Regions from separate parts of the Homo sapiens genome. Here all the other regions are linked to region 1. The links are contacts of gene promoters, found by promoter capture Hi-C in blood cells and fetal thymus (Javierre and others, 2016). All regions are on one chromosome and are shown on one strand. The core of a region is centred on a gene start or on the middle of the fragment in contact, and the rest is flanking DNA. Distances in the headings are between cores, read along the strand shown.

Region 1 (3,077 bases), core at 252-2,751:
TAGTCTGGCAATTTGGGATTTCAGATTTAGCCAGGTTTGTTCTTGGTTTTGGGGTCCTAAACTGGACAGAGTTTGTTTCAGCTTTGACCTCTTTGCCTGGACACAGTTGTTGAAGGATCTGGGGTTCTGAGGTAGTCATGGTTAGCCTGGAGATTAGGGGTTGAGTCTTGGGCTGGTTTGTTGATTTTGGGGTCCTGAGATGGACAGGGTTTGTTTTGATTTGGCATCCTTGCAAGACAAAAGTGGCTGGAAAATCTGGGGTTCTGAGGTAGTCATGGGTAGCCTGGAGATTTGGGGTTCAGTTGGGCATGTGTGCTCTGGATTTTGGGGTCCTGAGGTGGTCAAGGTTTGTTCAAGCCCTGGCATCCTGGGGGGGATGTGGTAGCTGGAGGATTTGGGGTTCTGAAGTAGTCATGGTTAGCCTAGAGATTTGGGGTTCGGTGTTGGGCAATTTTATTCTGGATTTGTGGGTCCTGAGGTCAGCAGGGTTTGTTTCAGGTTTGGCATGCTTGCGTGGACATGGTTGGCTAGAGGATTTGGGGTTCTAATGTTCTCAAGACCAGCATGGAGGAGGACTTGGGGTTTGCTTTGAGTTTGGGGTACTGACATGGGCAGGCTTGCCTTGGGTTTGGGGGTTCTGCTGAGGACAGGCCTTGTTTCAGACAAGTCTTACATGAACAGAGTTGGCTTTGGGACCTGGGTTCCTTATGAAGACATGGGGAGCCTGAGGGTCTGGCTTCTGGGGGGTCCTGGCTTGGACAGGATTTGCTCAGGGTTGGCAGATGCAGCCCGATCCAGGCAGGACCTGCTTGTGGATTAGGGTCCTGCTGTGGACAAGGTTTGCCTTGATTGGGAGTCCAATTTGAACGCCGTGTGTTTGAGATTGGGAAGTCCCTCTGTGGCCAGGACCCTAAGTGGCCCTTCCATCTGGGTTTCAGGGTGGTTGGGTTTCAGGGGTTTGCTTTGACATCTGGGGTTTCTCACGTAAGCAGGCTTCCCTTTGGGAATCCACTTCAGAAGTGGACAGGGTGCCCTTGCATGTGGCCAGGGAAGGAGTCAGGGCAGGAGCCACCTTCGTCGAGGTACTGGAGCCGCTGGAGGTTGAAGGGGATGCCGACCATCAGGTCCAGCTCCTCTTTGAGCTCCCGCACGGTCATGTCGCCGCGGCAGTTTGCCACTCGGAACATCTCCCCCGTCTCCTCCAGCCGCACCCGCAGGACGAAGACGTCAGGGGCCAAGTCGGGCAAGGCACTCGCGGCCTTCGGGTCACAGACGAGCCGCTGGCTCCGGCCGCGGGCACAGGCCAGGGGCTGCGCGGGGAGGGCCCGCGAGTCCGCCGAGCCCACCCTGGGCCCGCCGCACCCCTGAGCCCCGGCCCGCGCACCGCTCCTGCGTCCCGCATTGGGGTGCAGGCGAGAGGCGCCCCCAGTTGGCCCCGCCGCCCGCGCTCCGCCCGCCCCCGCCGCCGCCCGCCGCATCCCCCAGGCGCGGCCGCGCGTCATCCGCGGCTCGAGTGCGGTGGCCACGCGTCATCGCCGCCCCCGCCCTGACGCCCCAAGGCGGGCCCATGCGCCCCCCGCCCCACTGTGACGCCCAGGCCCCGCCAGGACCGCCCCCTCCAGACGCAAGGCGAGGCCCCTCCCTGCCTGCCGCCCGAGCCTCCAGGGAGACCGATGGGCGGGCGGCCCCCCAAGGTCCCGCAGTCCTTTCCCGCTCCGCGATGAACAAAGCCGCAGTTTCACGCGGCCGCGGGAGACGGTTCTTAAATAATGGAACAGGACATAAGTGCTTCCCAGAGCAACCGGGAGATTTATTGATAAATACAGAGACATCGCCGGGCAGCCACGCTCCGACAACCCGCACTGGGCCCCCGTCCCGAGCTCAGGCCACGTCCCCACCTCCTCGAAGCCTCCAAGCTGCTGTTAATGTCAGTTCTTTTCACCAGGCAAACGGAAGGGGCATTCTTGCTGCTGTTAGGAAACGGTTACCACTTCTCCGTGTCTGTTTAAAATAGGATCTTTGCATAAATTGGGATAAATCACCTGGAGGAATTACACGTAAACAAGGCTGTAAATCACCATTGCATGCATGGCCTGCAGAGTTGTAAAGTGCAGATTTTCGTTATAAAAACACTTCTAGTATGAATGAAAAAAAAAAAAAACCACCAACATTTCATAAACATGACTCCCTGCAGCCGATCTGGTCCCGACATGGGGGTGGATCCCAGAAGCGGGAGACAGCCTTCCACGGAAACTTGCAAAACTGCACCAAAATCTATCAATTTTGAAAATGCTCTTGAATTCTTGGCGGAAGAAAGATGCTGATAAACACATTAAGTGGGGAAATGCTCCCTTGAGAAAGGCTGGGTTGGCTCTATGAAGACACCTTTGGAGTGAGCTGTGCCTGGGAGAAACCCATCTGTGCTTTTCCCTTCATTCACCGGAGATGAGGCTGAGTGTTCAAGTAAACAGGAAGCTTACCTGTGGTGGTCAAATTACAAACACTCAACATGGCACCCATGAATAATTAGAAAATACAAGCGCCGAAGTGACGGGGGCGGGAGCTAGGAGGGCGAGGGGAAACAGAACAATCTTGGAAAAATCTCGGTTGTTGCAAAAAAAGAATAAAATGTATGCTTAAAAATTATTTTTACAGAGAAATTACAGCCATAAAAAATATCTGTGCATTGGAAAGGCACTCATATTATAGAAAAATGTTAACATATAAACGGAAATTGTAAAGGTTAGATTATTTACCAAAGAGTCTCTACAATCTCTCCAAGCATGTTGTGATTCAGCATGCAAATTATACACATCACAACACAAACTGAAGCTCATTTTTTTCCTTAACGGAAAATTAAGCTCTGAATAGAATACAAGATTCCAGTTGAATAATTCTACTTGCTGCTAGATCAACAGATTTTAACAAAACAATCTCAATTTGCGGGCAATAAAAAAAAATTAAAAATTGCTGGTTACCAAAGCAAAACAATATCTCCATTTACTTTAGGCAAGAATTAAACACACGACGGATTGACTGATTTTTTTTTTAATATGTAGCTTCTGATTTATTAACTC
Region 2 (3,077 bases), core at 290-2,789, 450 kb after region 1:
ACCCAGTGGAGTTTCTAGCCATATAATGAGTGTTTTGCCAATTCACTGTTGGACTACTCTACCATTTTTCTGAAATCAGTCGCTTCCTATACCAGAGATCGCCCCATTTAATAGCAGTATTGGGTTTACAAAAAGTCAGCCCTTGCACTAGTCTAACCAGAAGCCCTGAGCTGTCTTTTCAGGGGGCTTGTTGCCATGTGTAGGTGGATATGAGACTCCAGCCTGTGGTGGGAAGAGAAGTCTGACCTTGTCTATGCAGGGTTTTTTTAAGCATTTAGATTAATTTGGTTGCCAAGCCCTGTCTATTAAAAGTGAAAACTAACTTAAGTTTCTCACTCTGTAATACCCAGGTTTTGATGTGCTGCTGAATTATGCATTGGTTTTGAAGTTTCTTAAATAAAAACTAGTGAAATATGTTTTGTAATATAACACAGATAAAAGGAAAAGCTTTCTCTGCGGGAGTGAGCAAATCTAGTGGGAACTAAAAATTTTGTTTTAGGTTCTACTTTATAAATCATTTTGAGAGGTTTTACAGTATATTATTTAGTATTGGCTTCCCTGGTGTTCTGGGTTACTTATTAGAAAAGTCAGCGTGCTCCATCTTCCCTCCAGCCACAAGGCTGTAGGCAGCACGCGCGTGCTCGGCAGTCGGCTAGTCTAAGGGTGATTGAGCGTCGGGAGCTGCTCCCCATGACCGGACTCTCGGTGCTGTCCCCGTGCCTGATGTTTCCTCCTGGTGGATGAGGGGCTCCTCCAGGTGGGCGGGCAGGCTCACTTAGGAAACAAGCCCACCGCGGGGGATGGAGCAGGAGAGATTGCCATTCTCGCCAGGGCTGCCTTCCCGCTGTCTCCTCCTCCCTCCTGTGCCATAGCAAGGTCTGGAAGAGGCAGCGCATGCTCTCCCTGGACGTGCCTCCCGGCGCCCTCTGAACTCTGCTGTCCTCTGGCTCTCCTTTCTCAGTGCTCTGCGTCTTTCGCCAGCCAGGTGGGGCCCTTTGGCATTTCTCTAGCAGGCATGATGGAGTTCCCGCTCCTGCCGAGCTTCCAGGATGCGGTGTTAAGGTGAAGAGATGTGCAGGGTGCAGCCTCGTCCCCAGATTGAGCTTGGAGGGCTCCTTTGCTGTATCGTTAGCGGCACTGGGAGGACGCGCCTCAGAGGGATCTTTCTGCATATGACATCCATGGGGCACACGTGTCTGTTTTTATTTCAAAGGATGAGTTTTTGTTTCCAAATTTAGGGGAGGTCGAAATGGGGCCTCTTCCGGGTGTCTGTTGCCTACCTGCCAGGTACGGTCCTCCAGCCCGTTGTTTCCTTCCGCGGTGAAGGAACTGTGCATTCGCTCCAGGAACACGGACCGGGAACAGGCGACCCGTGCTGCAGGGGCACTTGCCACGGCCTGCAGGAGGAAAAGCCGGGAGAAGCAGGCCCAGCTGCACCCGGAAGCATGAGCTTTCACTTCCCTGTCAGGCTTTGTCTTAGTAGTAGGTTTCCAACAAATCCATTTCCACGTCCAGGGTAAATAAGCAGCACCAGGATCATGGGGCTCTTCCACTCCTGGTGATTGAATTCCGTGGGATTGATTGGAGGGATTACAATCATGTAGCCTGTAGCAGAGACCTCAGTCACTGTGCAGAGAGATCTGGAAGCCTCATTCTGGAAACGAGTGGGACTTGATTTGGGATTTTGGGGAAAATGACGGCCTTTTTTCCCTCCTCTTTTTGTAGGCAGAACAGTATCAAAAGAAGAATCGGAAGATGCTTGTGATTTTAATATTATTTGTCATCATCATTGTGCTCATTGTTGTCCTCGTTGGCGTGAAGTCTCGATAAGTGGCATTGGGTTTTCGTGTGTGCCGCGCGTGTGGATCTCCCGGGTGTGAGGGGCTTGGCCTGCGCCCCGCCAGCTGCCCGCAGAGGTGCAGCCTCGAGGAATCTGAGGGCGTCGGGGCAGCGAACCTTTGCATCCACGGACTCCTCCTTCCCTAGTCCTGCTCAAGCGGTCCGGGGAATGGGTTTTTGTTTTTCCTTCATTGTTGAGAATTTAAGGACCTTTGATACTGCTGCACAATAGAGATTGAGTTCTGGGATCAGTTATAATATATATTTTTTTTAGAAAGAGAAAATGAGCTGAGAGTTTACAGGCACTGCAGAAGCTGTTCAGTATTATATGTGTATATGCTATTTTTTTAGCAGCCATGTCTGAGCAGAATGTTAACATAATTTTTGGAAAAATTTTCTTTAAACCATCTGGTTTTTAAGAAATTTGGTACCAAAAATTGATGAGTAGAGGCAAAAATGCCCCTTCATCTTTCTCTATATATTTTCCAGTTGAAAACAAACTAAGAAGTCCTTTAAGAATTTATAATCCGTTCCCCATTAACTTAATTTAGCTTTTCCATCACTGTTAATGATCAGAGTAACAAAGTGTGAAAAATAAGAAACCATCATTGATGTTAATTAACACATTTAGATGGGCCAGTTAAAACAGCTTCATAAGTTTTAAATTAATTGTAAATGGAATATTCCTCATTTAAAATTTTTGCACTGCATTTTCTACTGTAAACCAAAAGAGGTTACTAAGCAAAACCACCTAAATTTAAGTTGGTGATTTAAATGAATCTCACATTAAAAGAAAGCTTGACAGTGTTATGAAAGCCACCAGACTCAGCCAGTGTGTCCCCATGGGTATCCCCAGCCATCCTTGCTCAATCCATTACTTATATACTAACTACATAATGACCTGTTCAAACCAGACTCTATTTAATGAACTGTGAATTTACACAGAGGCCATTTTAAATGGGTCACCCCATTTAGGATTAGTGGATCTCAAATTATTAACCAAACATCACTCCATTTCAAAGTAAAATATTCCACCAGCGATTTGATTTATTGGCTCTTCCATTGCCACTGAGCAATGCCCAGGAAGCAGGCACATTGCCAAGGACTGGGGGCATCTTGACTAGGAAGCTCCTCGTTTGTGTGAGCGTGGGTCAGACCGCCAAAGTAGGACTTCATCGTTTACCTACCTATTATCAATATGGTGCTTGAATATATTCCTATAACTGTAGAACAGTGTG
Region 3 (3,077 bases), core at 201-2,700, 420 kb after region 1:
AGGGCAGAGCTTCCAGAGAGCAATCTGCCACCTCCTGGGGTTCACTGGCTTGAGAATGAAACCAGCACAGGGGAAGAAAGAGCTGAGAGATAGAAACTCCTTGTTGATATGTTTCCTCCTCTGGATCCAGCTACGCATAGATGTTTGGGCCAACACATTTGCTTTGAAGCTTAAGTCCATTTGATTTGGGTTCTGTCCCTTGTGACCAAAGGAGTCTTGAGCCATGCATGGCCACATAGCTAATAAGGGGCTGCTGGTTGCACAGGCAGCATCTGGAGAAGGCTGGAGTCCAGCCCTGCACTTGCACATCACACAAATTACCACGAGCAGGTCAGTGGTCATGGCCATGGGAAAAAAAACTAGAAACGAGTGAGTTGGCTATGTTTCAATACCTGCTAGCGGAAAAACACAATGATTTCCTTTATGTTTTTCAGGGTTTGAGTCATCCAGGTCAGTCCTGGCTTGGCACATTAACTTATTGTTCCTGCCAAGGGAGATGGTTAAGATGGGAGGGTTGATTTATTTGAGTACACATGTGTCCACATCATCCTGGAAAAAAAGTAAAATGCAGATATGCTTTGCTGGCATGTGTTGTGACCCAAGAGGCCTCTTCTTGGCCTCAAAGACCAAAAGCCACGATGTTAGACATTGTTTCAGTCTTGAACTTGACCAAGCATGGGCAGGCACCTGGTATGATGGTGACATAAGGGCCCTGGGAGAGGAGAGTCCTCTCCCCACACGGTGGACAGGGTAGGAGGATTACTTTCTATTGAATAGTCTGAGACAAGAGTGGTGAGAAGGAGCCAGTTATTTGAAGAACCTAGGAAGGAGAGCAAAGCAGGTGCTAAGGAGGTGTGAGGAATGGTGGGAAGGCTAGTGTGGCTGAAAAGGGGTGAGCGAGGGGGACAGAGAACTGCCCTAATCTCTCCACCCATTTTGAGTCTTGACTGTCTGGTATTCTCTAGCACTTAATATAGTTAATCTCACCTTTTGTGCATTAATCCATCCAGTCATCCATTCCGCAAACATTTATCACACCTGACAGTGTAGGGGGTGCTGTCTTCAATGAAGGGTTCACCAAGCAGAAGGGGCAAGACACATCCCCCGCCACTACCCCCACCAGGCAGAGAAAGGCCTGTGAGCCAAGTCCTGGAAAGAAAAAAGCTCACCATTTAGGTGGGGCCTGTTGGGCAGGGCTTTGAATGCCCAGGGGGCACTCCGCCATGTGGAAAGTGTAGAAAACCTAAATGCAGAACTCCAGGAAATACTGATCTATGGGAAAAAAATTGTACTGAAATCCATGATTCTGGAATAAATCAGATCTAGTCTTATACTATATTCTAATACAGCCAAGTGGTGGCAGGGACTGAAGGTTTAAGAGAAAGCGAGAAGAGAAACACTTAAGATGGAGACTACTCCATTAATTAGCTTCATTTTTTTTTTTCTGACAACCAAGAAAAGTCCATCATTAGTTAATATTAGTGATGCCCAGCTTGGTTCAACTTAGAGCACCTGTTTTCTGCTGAGCGTCATTTGAGATCGGCTGGCATGGGCCAGAGGGAGCTGTTTCAGGGCCTCAATCAGGCAGTGACATGATCAGATTTATGCTTTGGAAAGGTCACTGTGGCTGCAGGATGAGGAGGGAAGAGACGGGTGGTTGTTAGCAGGCTGCTGGGAAAATGTACACGATGAGAACCAGAATTTGGGTAGAGACAGTGGAGATGCAAATTCCCTGAAGGCAAGAGTTTTGCTGTTTCATTCTTTCAGCAGTGCCTGGCAAGAGATAGGCACAGCCACTGGTAGATTTTTAGAAATGCCTACTGTATTGAATTGTCTGGTATTAAAAGCTACGGGACTCCAGACAAAACAAAAGTGTTGCCTCTCTCCAGAGTCTCCCTTCTTGGGAGAGGCATCATAGCTGAAGACAGACCCAGATAGGGAGTTTTCTGTTGTTGGAAATACTCAAGGTTTTGAGGAACTATTTGGGGACACAGAACACACAACTCCTGTTACCCGAACCTGGCCCGAATCTGTCTGTCAGATCTGTGCAGACGAGACATATGTTAGGCCTGGGGGCTTTTGCTGCTTGATAAGCAAACAACCATCTGTCTTTCTATAGGTGGGAGAAAGACCAATGTTAAAAGGTGTCTTTGAGATGGTTTAGCCCCCTCTTCCACATGAGTGTGCACTGCAGACACATCTGGATTCCCAAGGTCCAGAACAAGAAGCTCGGAAACGTGCTTAGATTTCCAAGTGTTCAGTTCTCAATACCATGCCATTCTCTTTGGAGTTTATGATGCCTTCCAGGGAGAGCAGAGCCCACGTGAGCTTTCCAACAGTAAGACTACTGCTGTAATAAATCATATTGCCCATTTGTGGCGCACTTACTCTATGCTGAGGTTGTATAAGGGCTTACATGAGCCCTATCTCATTTAAATTGTTTTCACCAAAGGGTGTGTGTCCCACTGCTGACCTGTTGAGCTAACCATCCCCTCTCAGTACTTGAAAACCTGCACCTGCCCAAGCCATGGCCTGGCTTCAATGGGGCTTCCTCCTGCACTGAATGAGATGACAAGAAAACAATGAAACACTTGTCCCCAAAAGTGACTTATTGGATTCGTTGGCAGAATGTTAGAAAGTGGGTATGAAGCCCAAGAAACAGGACACGGAGCCTCACCAAGCCCGAGGAGTATTACCGAATCCTAGCCCAGGCCAAGAATGAGTCACAATGAAAGCTTTTAAAATGTAAAACCATCAACCTAGATTTCAATTCCAAGGAAACACATACTTGGCCATGGGGGAATGCTTTAAAAAAAAAAAAAAATCAAGCTTAAGTCACTTGACAGGAAAATAAAACAGCCAAGGAACATTCAAATATAATGATTTACATCCTTCCCCAACTCCCTTCCAGTGTGGGTCAGGGCGAACATGGACCATGGACGTGACTGGAGCCAGGGGTGCATGCCCTCTCTGGGCTCCCTCTTGGTTAACACTATTTCAGGCACACAATCCCATACCTAAACACAGCCTGCTTAGAGCTGCACCGTGCTGCCTTTGGGGCCTGGTCAGAGCTGCAC

What was found. The method cuts DNA at HindIII sites, captures the fragments that hold promoters and counts their contacts. A CHiCAGO score of 5 or more calls a contact.
Region 2: a contact is called between a fragment that was not itself captured here and the fragment with the promoter of ANKRD60 in region 1, in 1 of 17 cell types (endothelial precursors). The highest score is 5.2, in endothelial precursors.
Region 3: a contact is called between a fragment that was not itself captured here and the fragment with the promoter of ANKRD60 in region 1, in 2 of 17 cell types (megakaryocytes and endothelial precursors). The highest score is 7.8, in megakaryocytes.

What each region holds. Positions count from the first base shown.
Region 1 is chr20:58,227,152-58,230,228 of GRCh38, forward strand. It overlaps ANKRD60 (ankyrin repeat domain 60), which reads right to left and starts at 1,502. Exons shown (of 4, transcript NM_001304369.2): 1 at 1,073-1,502. The coding sequence starts at 1,502. The HindIII fragment of the contact is 6,586 bases long and covers 1-2,473 here.
Region 2 is chr20:58,674,462-58,677,538 of GRCh38, forward strand. It overlaps STX16 (syntaxin 16), which reads left to right. Exons shown (of 9, transcript NM_001001433.3): 9 at 1,726-3,077. The coding sequence ends at 1,830. The region is part of intron 8 of STX16-NPEPL1 (STX16-NPEPL1 readthrough (NMD candidate)); the gene reads left to right. Among named protein-coding and RNA genes, the nearest start is that of NPEPL1, 17 kb to the right of the region's middle. RefSeq lists enhancers at 1,366-1,891, 1,892-2,416. The HindIII fragment of the contact is 2,189 bases long and covers 446-2,634 here.
Region 3 is chr20:58,645,290-58,648,366 of GRCh38, forward strand. The region is part of intron 1 of LOC107985410 (a long non-coding RNA gene); the gene reads right to left. Among named protein-coding and RNA genes, the nearest start is that of STX16-NPEPL1, 4.4 kb to the right of the region's middle. RefSeq lists a silencer at 2,204-2,498. The HindIII fragment of the contact is 2,566 bases long and covers 168-2,733 here.